2 separate regions of the Homo sapiens genome follow, and region 1 is linked to region 2. The links are contacts of gene promoters, found by promoter capture Hi-C in blood cells and fetal thymus (Javierre and others, 2016). All regions are on one chromosome and are shown on one strand. The core of a region is centred on a gene start or on the middle of the fragment in contact, and the rest is flanking DNA. Distances in the headings are between cores, read along the strand shown. Region 1 overlaps PRDM4 (PR/SET domain 4). Region 2 holds the start of POLR3B (RNA polymerase III subunit B).

Region 1 (6,052 bases), core at 1,841-4,340, 1.4 Mb before region 2:
ACAGGTGAGTAGGGAGGTGGGCTTCAGCACTGGTGACATCGTTGGAAACTCTGGCGAGTGAGTGTCCAGGGTCAGTGCCGTTGTTTTTGGTGCCATTGAGAAGGTTACAGGTGTGATTTGCAAAGGAAACAAATCCAGAAACTAGTGTTGGGTGGAATGTAATCTCATGCATCCTAATTTACTCCACATGTGGAAAGTTGTTCCCAGTAGCCACACGTTTATTGTTGGCTTGTTGACACCTTTTCCTGTGTCTTTCAGTTATTTGAGCGTTTAATATATTTTTCCGGATTCCAACGTGTATTGTTATCTTATTATGCTTCACCTTGAGTTTTGCTGGTATGGCAGGGACGATAGTGAGGGAATTAAGTTCTTAATTCTGCAAGCTTCATGCTGATGTTTAAGTACAGAAGCAGGCCACAGAAATTGTTGCATTTGGCTGTTTTTTCAAGGCCCTTTCAAAGGCCGTATGTTTAGAATAAGGAAGATAAGGCACAAATTCATTGAAATTATTGAAGCCCCACTGCATTTTTCAAAGTGGCTGCATTTCAGTTAGTTTATTATATTTTATGCGAAGAAAAAGGTGTAAAATCAGCAACTGGCAGATGGTTGCATAGGTCAGTTAGAAACACACACATAAACTGTAGAACTGTGTAGGAAATTATTTTACCCTAAATGAGTAGGGAAGATAGAGCTTAGTATCTTGATTCTTGCCTTCTTCCGGGATTGCTTCTTAGAATCTCATAGGAGAAAGAAAATGAGAATAGAACTGCATTTTAGAATGAGAAAGTCTTATGAGGATCATATTGTACATTCCCTTCATCTGCCTTCTCTCTGTGGGATACTCATTACCTTTGGTTTATGGCTGCTGAGGTCATCACGTTTTAGTGACTCACAACAAAGCAGAAATCTGCTGAGCCTCTCGCATTAAACTCTGGTTTGAACTGGTTTGAGAAGGCCTAGGAGTCAACCTAGAAACACCATGCTGATTTTTATCTTGAAATTAAATAAATATTCAGGAATTTTCAGAATGAGAGTTGAAGGTGCAGACTTGTAGTTGTACTTTTAAAAAAATATTGTAACCAATTTGTTAAGTAGGCTGTTACAGCTGTAGTGATTGTAGTGTTTTAATTATGGTTGTAGCTATAAAGAGTTAGGGAAAAGTCTGTTTTAAACCAACTCAAGCCCAGCAACTTTCAAAATTAAGGTAGATATGTTTTCTTTAGGCTACAGGGATTTTTTGCTTTTTTTGTTTTTAAGACACAGTCTCACTCTGTCACCCCAGCTGGCGTGTAGAGGTACAGGCAGAGCTCACTGTAGCCCCGACCTCCCCACTTCAGCCTCCCCTGTAGTTGGAACCACAAGCACGAACCACCATGCCTGGCTAAGTTAAAAAAAATGTTTAGTAGAGACAGGGGTCTCACTGTGTTGCCTAGGGACGTCTCCAAGTCCTGGGCTCAAGCGATCCTTCTGCCTTGGCCTCCCAAAGTGTGGGATTACAGGTGTAAATCACCACACCTGGGCTGCTTTATTTTATAGCATAATAAAAACTGTTATTAGCATGCTGTTCTTCATAAGGTGTACCTCATTTGCCAGGTGCTTCTAGCTGTCTTTCTGGTAAGGGTGATGAGTTTGCATAGCTCCATCCGATAAAATAAGAAAATTCAGAATGTCTGTTCTATACAAGGTACTAGGTTGGCCTTTTACATTTTATTGATGTCTTAGAGCTTAGTTTTATGGGATCCATGGCCAGGGATAAGGGTGAAACCTAATAATGCAAGAAACAGGTCTATGTGGAACTTTAAATATACGCCACAATATAAGTAGATAGGCCCTAATGTATTGCAACTGTGTAAAAGGCAATATAGTTCTTTTATTGTAATTGTCTTTTTCTTACTATAGTTAAGAGCTTTGGTTTCTTAAATTAGTTCTGAATTTAAATCCCAGCTCTCCTTACTGGTTATGTGATTCTGGGTTAAGTTTCCTAGCATCATTGAATCTTAAGTTTCCTCATCTTTAAAGTGGGATTAAGAATAATACCTACCTCCAGCCTGGGCAACATAGGGAGACCCCATCTCTGCAAAATAAAAACAAATTAGCCAGGCATGGTGGCACTTGCCTGTGGTCCCAGCTGCTTGGGGGCTGAGGTGGGAAGATCTCATGAGCCTAGGAGGTAGAGGCAGCAGTCAGCTGTGATCACGCCACTGCACTCCAGCTTGCAGCTACTGAGCAAGACCCTGTCTCAAAAACAAAAAAAAAAAAAAAAAAAAAAAGAAGATTAAGAGAGATAGTTACATATAAATCACTTAGCCCAATACATAGCACATGGTAAGGGAGCCATAAATTTTAGCTATTATTATTTTCAGGTTGATTGATAAAATGGCATTGCCATTTTTCAGAATTAAAAACCTATTTAGATTTGATTTCACTGCTAAGGAATATGTAACCTCATTTGATTCCTCTTCTCTGCTTCACCCCCTCCCATACGCAGAGAATAAAGCCCAGTGTAAGGACTGGAGGTCATTAGAGAGCCCCTTTTGGGTAACCTGTTGGCTAGCCTAGTGGTTCTGTAATGTTTATAGTATGGCAGTCTCTAAATTATGATATAAGAACTAATACTTTTTGATAACAACCTTCAGTGCTGTTTTATTCAAATCAGTATTACTCTTATTCGAAAGACATTTGTAATGGCAGTGCAAGATGGTTTGCATAGAAAAGGTGATTCCTAGGTTCTTCACCTTGCCAAAAATAGTCTGTAGTTAAAAAAAAAGTTTGGTGCAGTTAAAAAAAAGTTTGGTGCAATGAAAAACTTTTTGGCAGTGTTTTGCAGTTTGATCTGTGATCTTTCACTTAATAGCTATGTGATTTGGGGCATATGACATGGCCTCTCTGAGCCATAGTTCCCTCATCTATCTTACGTTGCAGTATTGGTGTGAGGATTTGAAGTCATTTTAAGTGAAGTGGTAGCAAAGCTTACATAATGACCCTCAATATTTGGAGGACATTAATATACTGATACAGAATCTTAGTAAACTGTTGCTGAATGGGGAAAATACGATGCTTTTCACATCATCGATAATCTGGATCTTTAACTCCTATTAAAAATGATTAGTAAAATTTACTTGAGTAGGTTAAAATGCGCTGCCTAAAACACTACTGGTTTGAAATAATAAGCCATTTGGAGAAAAATAAATATTATAAAAGATGAAGCTTGAGTGATTTAAAAAAAAACTGTCATTGCCATTGTGCTCTAAGAATTGCAGACTTTGCTTTAGATGGTGTGCCTAGAGTTTCGAACAAGGCAGAATTCAAATCCTATTTCTGCTATGTGACATTGAATTGAGTTTTTAATGTCTCAATCTCAGTTTTCTTATCAGTAGAAAGAATATGGCACTAGCTATCTAAGAGAATTGTTGAGCGTAAAAGTGAACTAATAGTTGGCCAAGTCCCATTTCCCCATCCCCACTGTTTCAGTTTCTTCAGTATCTTAATACAGAGTCATTGGAGTAAATTTTTGCATAACTAGTTGTGTGTGCTCTTTTCTAGGATGAATGAAATGAACCTGAGTCCAGTGGGGATGGAGCAGCTGACTTCATCCTCTGTGAGCAATGCCTTGCCAGTCTCAGGAAGTCACCTGGGATTGGCTGCCTCACCCACTCACAGTGCCATCCCTGCCCCAGGTGAGTGGTAAGGGAGACCTACTGCATTTCAACACTTAACTCTGTTATCAATTCTAAATGGAGTCTAGAAGAGATCAGAGCCCCTTTAAGGGTAGAAGGTAGAAGGGAGAAGGTAAGCAGGCCTGAATGGTGGTTCAACATGTGATAGGTAATGGAAAATAAGGTTTTTGTAGAGGTAGAGTATTAGAATTCTAGTGGATAGTAGCAGCAATTTTTTCTGATAGTCCTCTTCTGAGTTGGTAGCTTTTTGTCCAGAGCTGTAATTAACTTGGCATTTTATTTAGGGCTGCCCATTCATCTGGTTCACACTTCAGTACCCGTTCCCTGGGTTAATAGAAGAGAATCAGTTAAAATTACTCTAATAACTATTCCCAGAGAGCATGGGGAATTGGGCTTTATATTCCACCAGGTTTGAAATTAAATGGCAATAACTGCAAGTGTACCAGGTCTAGAATTAATGTGGAAAGAAGTGTGGTACTTTTACCTGGGGCTTTTACATGGAACGCCTCATGAGCCTCCATACACAGCAAAATCGTATAGGAAAAATTCATTCTTCCTATCCTTTTTTTTTTGAAATGGAGTCTCACTCTGTCATCCAGGCTGGAGTGCAGGGGCACGATCTCGGCTCACTGCAACCTCCGCCTCCCGGGTTCAAGTGATTCTCCTGCTTCAGCCTCCTGAGTAGCTAGGATTATAGGCATGCACCCCTACACCTGGCTCATTTTCTTTTTTTTCTTTTTTGAGATGGAGTTTCGCTCTTGTCGACCAAGGTGGAGTGCAATGGCACGATCTCGGCTCACTGCAACCTCCGCCCGCCTCCCGGGTTCAAGCAATTCTCCTGCCTCAGCATCCCGAGTAGCTGAGACTACAGGCACACGCCACCATGCTCAACTAATTTTTTGTATTTTTAGTAGAAACGGGGTTTCACCATATTAGCCAGGCTGGTCTCGAACTCCTGCCCTCAGGTGATCCGCCCTCCTCGGCCTCCCAGAGTGCTGGGATTTTAGGTGTGAGCCACCGCGCCAGCCGTCACTGTACTTTTAAAACCTTTTTTCTGCCTAGCTTCATTTTCTTATTCTATTGAAATAGAATATAAATGGAATAAATATTCTATTGATTATTACAATGATAAGCTGTCAGTTCTTTAGGATCAATGACATTGTTATGTATTGGACTTTCTTTGTCACAGTAGGAGTTAGTATAAATAAATCTATATATTGTTTAAATAGTTCTCTAAAGAGAATTACTTGCTTAATTAATAAAATGCAGCAGTTAAATAAGATTCATTGAAACTAGGGTCTCTTCACATTTGTTTAAGTGTCCACAAAAGAAATCTTAAAAAATTATTAGTGGTTAACCCACTTGATTGTTTGTAGGCATTCCCTTTAGTGGACACTCTTGTTAAGGTGGAAAAGCCTGTTAAAAAATATTGCCAGCCAGGCACAGTGGCTCACGCCTATAATCCCAGCATTTTGAGAGGCCAAGGCAGGAGGATCACTTGAGCCCAGGAGTTCAAGATCAGCCTAGGTAACATAAGGAGACCCCATCTCTACAAAGAAAAAAAAAAAAATTAGCAGCGCATGGTGGCACACACCCGTAGTCCCAGCTACGTAGGAGCTACATAGGAGGCTGAGAAGGGATGGCCACTTGAGCCAGGAAAGCTCAGGTTGCCTGAGCCATGGTCATGCTACTACGCTCCAACCTGGGCAACATAGCAAAACCTTGTCTCAAAAAAAAAAAATATTGCCCCTGGCAAAAATATGCAAATCAGCACTGACCAAGTTGGTGGGTATTTATTATGATACTTAGCCCAGTAAAAGTCACTTCACTTTGCAAGTACATATAACTCAAAGTAGATATAATCTCACGTTTAAAGCTTTTATTAATCACTAAGTGTAGCATATATACAAAAGATTGTATGAAGGTGTACATGTACAGTTTTACATCTAACTAAACTACGTTGTTTTCCAGGTAGAAATGAAATATTCTCACCATATAAAATGGTAAATACAATAAAGTTTAAAAATACCAAAAAAATTTCATACTATCACTACCTAGGGACTACTCCTATGAACATTTTATGTTTCCATTGTTTTTTTCTCTATATAATTTGTTTTCTTGTATTTAAACTCGGTTTTTAATTCTAAATTAAATATTTTGGCTGGGCATGGTGGCAATCCCCGCACTTTGGGAGGCTGAGGTGGGCAGATCACTTGAGGCCAGGAGTTCGAGACCAGCCTGGCCAACATGGTGAAACCCTGTCTCTAGCAAAAATACAAAAATTAGCTGGGTGTGGTGGTGTGTGCCTGTAATCCCAGCTACTCAGGAGGCTGAGGTAGGAGAATTGCTTGAACCCAGGAGGCCGAGATTGCAGT
Region 2 (5,659 bases), core at 2,490-4,989:
CTATTGACTGGGCAGTGATACCTTACAGCCTCAGAGGCTACTTAAGATCAGTATGTCCAAAATTAAATCTTCCCCCAGCTCCATTCTCAATCTCAATGAATATCACCATTTATCCCAGTCAATCCCAAATTAGATACCCGGGAGTCCTAACTTTCTGACTCTTCTTAATCAACAGGAAAACAAAAATTCTACTGAGTCGACCTCCTTTTAACCTTCCTCGCATTTATCCTCTGCTCCTGTGCCAGTTGAGGCCCTCATAATCTTTCAGCTGGTCTGCGGCAATACTTCCTTACTACTCTTCCTGCTCGTCCCTTTCAATGCTCAGCACTAAAGCCAGTGTACATGTCCTCATGTGCACAGCTGAGCACCTCATTCTCTACAACTCTTCAGTGCCTCCCCACCCTCTTCACCATGTCTTAACTCCACAGCGAGGCATACATCATATGCTGTGCTTGCAGCTGTACTTGTGCCTACGCCTCCTCCTTCTATCTGGAATGCTTCCGCACCACCACACTTCATCCACATCTGGCAAACTCAGTTCAGGCATCACATCCTAGCTACCATTTGTAATACCAAAATACCCCTCGCCTACTTGTATCACAGTACCTATTGCATGTTATTCCACTTGCTTACACGTCTCTCTCTATAAGCCTATAACACACTGGGAGGCAGAAAACACATTTTTTGAACTTGTATAAACCCTGTGAATAATACACCACCAGGTAAGTACTCAGTAACACTGACAAATATTTATTCAACAAGTAACTGATTAATTGGCTCCAAAGCTTGTGTTGTTTCTACCATACTACCATGCTGCTGTGCTACCATAAGCACAAAAAAATACACACCAGGCATGGCCAGTTCAAGTAAAACTGAGCTCCTAACTAGAAAAAGTTGCAGCGAAAACACTGAAGTTGGAAAGTTTAAGTAAATATTTTAATATCTCAATTTAAAAGGAAATGGCAGCAAGTAGCAGAGATCTACCATCTTCTGGGAGAATCAGGAAAGGCCTTCCTAGGGAAGTTATATTATAGATATGTGGGATTTAATCTACAAATAGGAAGGGGAGAGCGATCCAGAAGAAACTGAGCAGAGTAGAAAGATCTCAGGGGAGGGAGAGGGGGGAACCATGGGAAAAGAGACTAGAGAAGTAAGCACTGGTCAGACTGAGGAAATTTATTACAAACATGGTAAACACTAGATTTTGCCCTAAGAGCAATAGGCAGAGATTGAAGAACTTTAACCAAGGGAGCAACATAACCATGTTTGTGTGTTTAAACGGACAGCTCTGGCTGCAGAGCAAGGAACAGACTGGATTGGGACAAGTCAGGTGCCAGGTAGGCCAGTTAGGAAGTAAGAGAGGACAGTCGTTCTGGGCTGGAAAACGGTGGGAATGAAGTTTCAGATATGCATAGATTAAGAACTCAGGACTTTTTAGAGGTGATGGTGGATTGGATACAGAGTGCAGGAAGAGGAACTGTTATTCTTCAATCAGAAGGCTGGAATTATAGCACTGTTCACTTCATAGCTGTGTAAATTCAGATAAGAAATAGAAATCTCCCAGGCTTATTTCTTCAGCTCTCTGGAGAAGCGGTCCGATAGCAGTTAGGGATGAAGACTCGAGTCAGACTGACAAGAGTCCAAATTCCAGATTAGCCACTACCAGGCTTCTAATGCAAGGCTATTTACTTAACATCTTTGGGCCTCTCTGGCAAAATGGGGGTGAAAATAGTACTTATTTCAGAGGATTAAATAACATAATGCATGTTATGGTTAAACAGAACCTGGCACATTAGCAAGTGCTCAGTGAATGCTGGCTCTTTGATATTCACTTTTCACGGTTAAAATACAGTTTTGCAGCCGGGCACGGTGGCTCACGCTTGTAATCCCAGCACGTTGGGAGGCCGAGGCGGTGGATCACGAGGTCAGGAGTTCGAGACCAGCATGGCCAACACAGTGAAACCCCGTCTCTACTAAAAATACAAAAATTAGCTGGCGGTGATGGTGGGCGCCTGTAATCCCAGCTACTTGGGAGGCTGAGGCAGGAGAATTGCTTGAACCCGGGAGGCAGAGGTTGCAGTCAGCCGAGATTACACCACTGCACTCCAGCCTGGGCGACAGAGCTAGACTCCGTCTCAAAAAAAAAAAAAAAAAATAGTTTTGCCTGATGATCAGCAGCCTATTGCATGCACTTATAGACTGAATCTGTTGGAACTGCTAATTCAACTTCCTTAACTTGTCAAACTATTATAAAGAGGTTTTGTTTTGTTTTCCTTGAGACAAGGTCTCAGTCACCCAGGCTGGAGTGCAGCAGCACAATTACGGCTCACTGCAGCCTCGACCTTCCAGGCTCAAGTGATCCTTCCACCTCAGCCTCCTGAGTTGCTGGGACAAGTGCACGCCACCACACCCAGCTAATTTTTGTATTATTTGTAGAAACAGGGTTTTGCCATGTCGCCCAAGCTGTTCTCAAACTCTTGAGCCCAAGTGATCCGCCCGCCTTGGCCTCCCAAACTACTGGTATTACAGGCCACCACGCCTAGCCAAGGAGGTTCTTATAATCCGATAGACTTACTGATCATGTCACTTTCCTGCTTAAACCCTTCAAAAGCTCTGCTCCAAGACAAAGTCCAAGCTCTGTCAGATGTTTATTGAAACTTTTCATAATCAAGACCCTTACTTAACCCTGTCTTTTATCTCTTCTCCTCTATTTTTCTTCACTCTAATACTACTGGATTTACTTTCCTTCCTCAAAAACATCCAATGGTCTTGCCGAGGAGGTTTCAAGTATCCTGTTCTCTTTCCCTGAAATCTCTCCTTTGCTATCTTCTCCGGCCACGTCTCCACTTCCCTATTCCACGTCAGTGTAGATTTTGAGGCTCAGAGAGATTACAAAATGTGCCTTATCAGATAACAAAATATGTCGACAGCCGCACTTCACTGGGCAGCTCGCTGTGGGGCAGCTGTCCTTAACTTCCGAGAAGCTGATGAAAGCTGTGGAGTCTCTCCCCCAGAAAACACACAGGCAAATTCTTTAGTAAATATTGAGGGCGTTTAAAATTCCCCTGCAACCCAAACTGGAACTTCAAGTTAAAAGGAAAGATGACTAGCTTGGAATTCAGACGATCTGGTTTTACCCCCACAGCCGGCTGTGGTGCCTCATGCAAATGGCCTGAGCTCCCTGGCCCCGTGTCCTCTGTAAGACTGCAAACATGCAATACGTCCCCCACAGTAAGTGCGAGGGTCAGTCCTCCCCACGCACACCTATGCTGGAAGAGCTCCAACCCTAGAGCCAGCAGCGGGGCTTCTCGGCCCCCGCAGCGGCTGACAGCTCCTCTGGGATCAGCCTTCACTCGCGCACGCGGAGGCCGGCTCTGGAAAAAAGACTCGCAAGCGCGACGCTCTGGGCATGCGCAGAAGCCCGGCGCATGCGCACAAACCGCCAGCCCGCCCCCTTGGCGGCCCGAGCACTCCGGGCAACGCCCCCTCAGGGCGCATCCTTGTCCCTGACGCTCCCTGCGTGCCTGGCACTGACCTCTACAGTCGGGATCGGCGCCGCCAGCTGCTCCGGAGTCAGGTTCCCAAACTCCTCCGCTAGCACGTCCATGCTGCTCACGAAGGAGGAAGAAACAGATAGAACCTCCGCGCCCGCCTTCCCTGCACCAAGCAAACTGCAAGACTCCCGGCGAACGGTGCGCGGAGGCCTAAACTGTCCCCGCCGTGCGTGTTAGCTAGAGACGCGGTAGAAAGGTTCCGCCCGCTCCCTGCCCGAATCTGCGGTGGAACCCGGATGTGGCCGAGGCCGAGTAAGGAAAGTACGCCCTCTGGTGTAGCTCGGAGGTCTGGCGCAGGGAATCCTAAGCCCCAGCTGTCAGGTTTCTTGCCAATTCTCTGGTAATTGAGACCAGCAAAACATAGTGGTTGTCATTTTAAAAGTAATCCGAAGAAAAGTGTAAACGCATAATTTACGCAACTTGAACCACTGAGGCAGAGAATTATTTAATGTAGTCCAAAATTCTATGCATTGTTTAGTATGGAAGAGCAGGAAACGTCCCAAATGCCTACCAATAGAAGATTGATTAAATAAATGATGGTACATGCGTGTAATGGAAGAGTGTTGAAAATTCTCAAAAGCACTAGATGGAAGATGTAGGAGTAAATACCCAGCGCATGGAGAAATTTAATATGAAAAGATGACATTTACGTTAGTAGGGGAAGGATGGCCTGTCCAGTAAATAATGTTTGAAGAGCTGATTACCCATTTGGGGAAAAAATACATGTAAGTGAATCTTTTGTGGATTAAATATTGAAATGTTAACAAAAACTTAGAAGAAAATGTAAGTGCAGATATTCATAACATTGAGATGTTGAAGACTTTCAAGACGGCAACAGTCAAATCATAAAGGATTTTATAATCTAAACACGATTTTATGATTCCACGGAAAATTTTTAATTTTCTGAACAGATTTTAAAAAATCACCAACAAATAGAATTAATAAAAAATAAATTGGCAGAAGACAAAGGGCTGGTCTCTCTAATTTAAAATGAGCTCATACAAATCAACAGAAAGAAAAATCCTATTAGAAAAAACAAGGCAAAATGCACCAATTAATTAATGGGTACGGAGTTTCGGTTTGGGAAGATGCAAAAGTTCTGTAAATGGAGAATGGTGATGGTTGCACAACAGTGTGAATGTATTTAATGCTGCTGACCTGTACATCATTTTAAAGGGTTAAAATGCTAAGTTTTATGTATATTTTACAACGATAAGAAAAGTTATGAAAATTTGTAAGTACATATATGCTTTCCAATTTCTCCCTCATAAAGGTAGAACCCTTGCACCAGGTTAATTATTCTTATTTACTAAAGAGCTACTTAAATTTCAGTACTTGTATTTTCTTTTTTTTTTTTTTTTTTTTTTTTTTTGAGACGGAGTCTCGCTCTGTCGCCCAGGTGGGACTGCGGACTGCAGTGGCGCAATCTCGGCTCACTGCAAGCTCCGCTTCCCGGGTTCACGCCATTCTCCTGCCTCAGCCTCCCGAGTAGCTGGGATTACAGGCGTGAGCCACCGCGCCCGGCCGTATTTTCTAAGTATTGCACTGATATCTGAAATACGAGAAGAATGGAAAAAACACCAAAAGTAGAATCAACCCTGCCTTTGAAGTTCTTACAATTTACTTATTACAGAGACAAGATACAACTTGTGTCTCATCATTGTGCATTACCAGATTGCAACCAATTTAGCATCTAGCCTAGAAGGGACTGTGAAAGTGATTTATAGATGGCAGAGGATCTCAAGGTTGGCTCAAGTGTGTTGGTTGTCTGTGCCAAAGTCTTCTTTGCTTTCCATTATCAAGGTGATTCTCCGACTTTAGGGTGTATCAGAATCACCTGGAGAGCTTGTTAAACTAATCTCAGCTTTCTGATTGGTAAATTGGGGCTGAAATTTTGCTTTTTTGGTGGGGGGCGGGGATGGAGTCTTACTCTGTCGTCCAGGCTGGAGTGCAGTAGTGCAATCTTAGCTCACTGTACCCTCCCAGGTTCAAGCGATTCTCCTGCCTCAGCCTCCCGAGTAGCTGGGATTACAGGCGCGTGCCACCATACTCAGGTAATTTTTGTATTTTTAGTAGAGACGGGGTTTCGCCATATTGGCCAGTTT

Evidence for each region. Contacts are between HindIII fragments. The CHiCAGO score rates a contact against its expected background, and 5 or more counts as called.
Region 1: a contact is called between a fragment that was not itself captured here and the fragment with the promoter of POLR3B in region 2, in 1 of 17 cell types (naive CD4 T cells). The highest score is 5.4, in naive CD4 T cells.

The regions. Positions count from the first base shown.
Region 1 is chr12:107,754,457-107,760,508 of GRCh38, reverse strand. It overlaps PRDM4 (PR/SET domain 4), which reads left to right. Exons shown (of 12, transcript NM_012406.4): 2 at 1-4; 3 at 3,544-3,677. PRDM4-AS1 (PRDM4 antisense RNA 1) reads right to left here. Exons shown (of 5, transcript NR_120474.1): 4 at 2,117-2,234; 5 at 541-737. Among named protein-coding and RNA genes, the nearest start is that of PRDM4, 3.7 kb to the left of the region's middle. The HindIII fragment of the contact is 238 bases long and covers 2,972-3,209 here.
Region 2 is chr12:106,355,828-106,361,486 of GRCh38, reverse strand. It overlaps POLR3B (RNA polymerase III subunit B), which reads right to left and starts at 3,739. Exons shown (of 28, transcript NM_018082.6): 1 at 3,536-3,739. The coding sequence starts at 3,607. The HindIII fragment of the contact is 8,226 bases long and covers 788-5,659 here.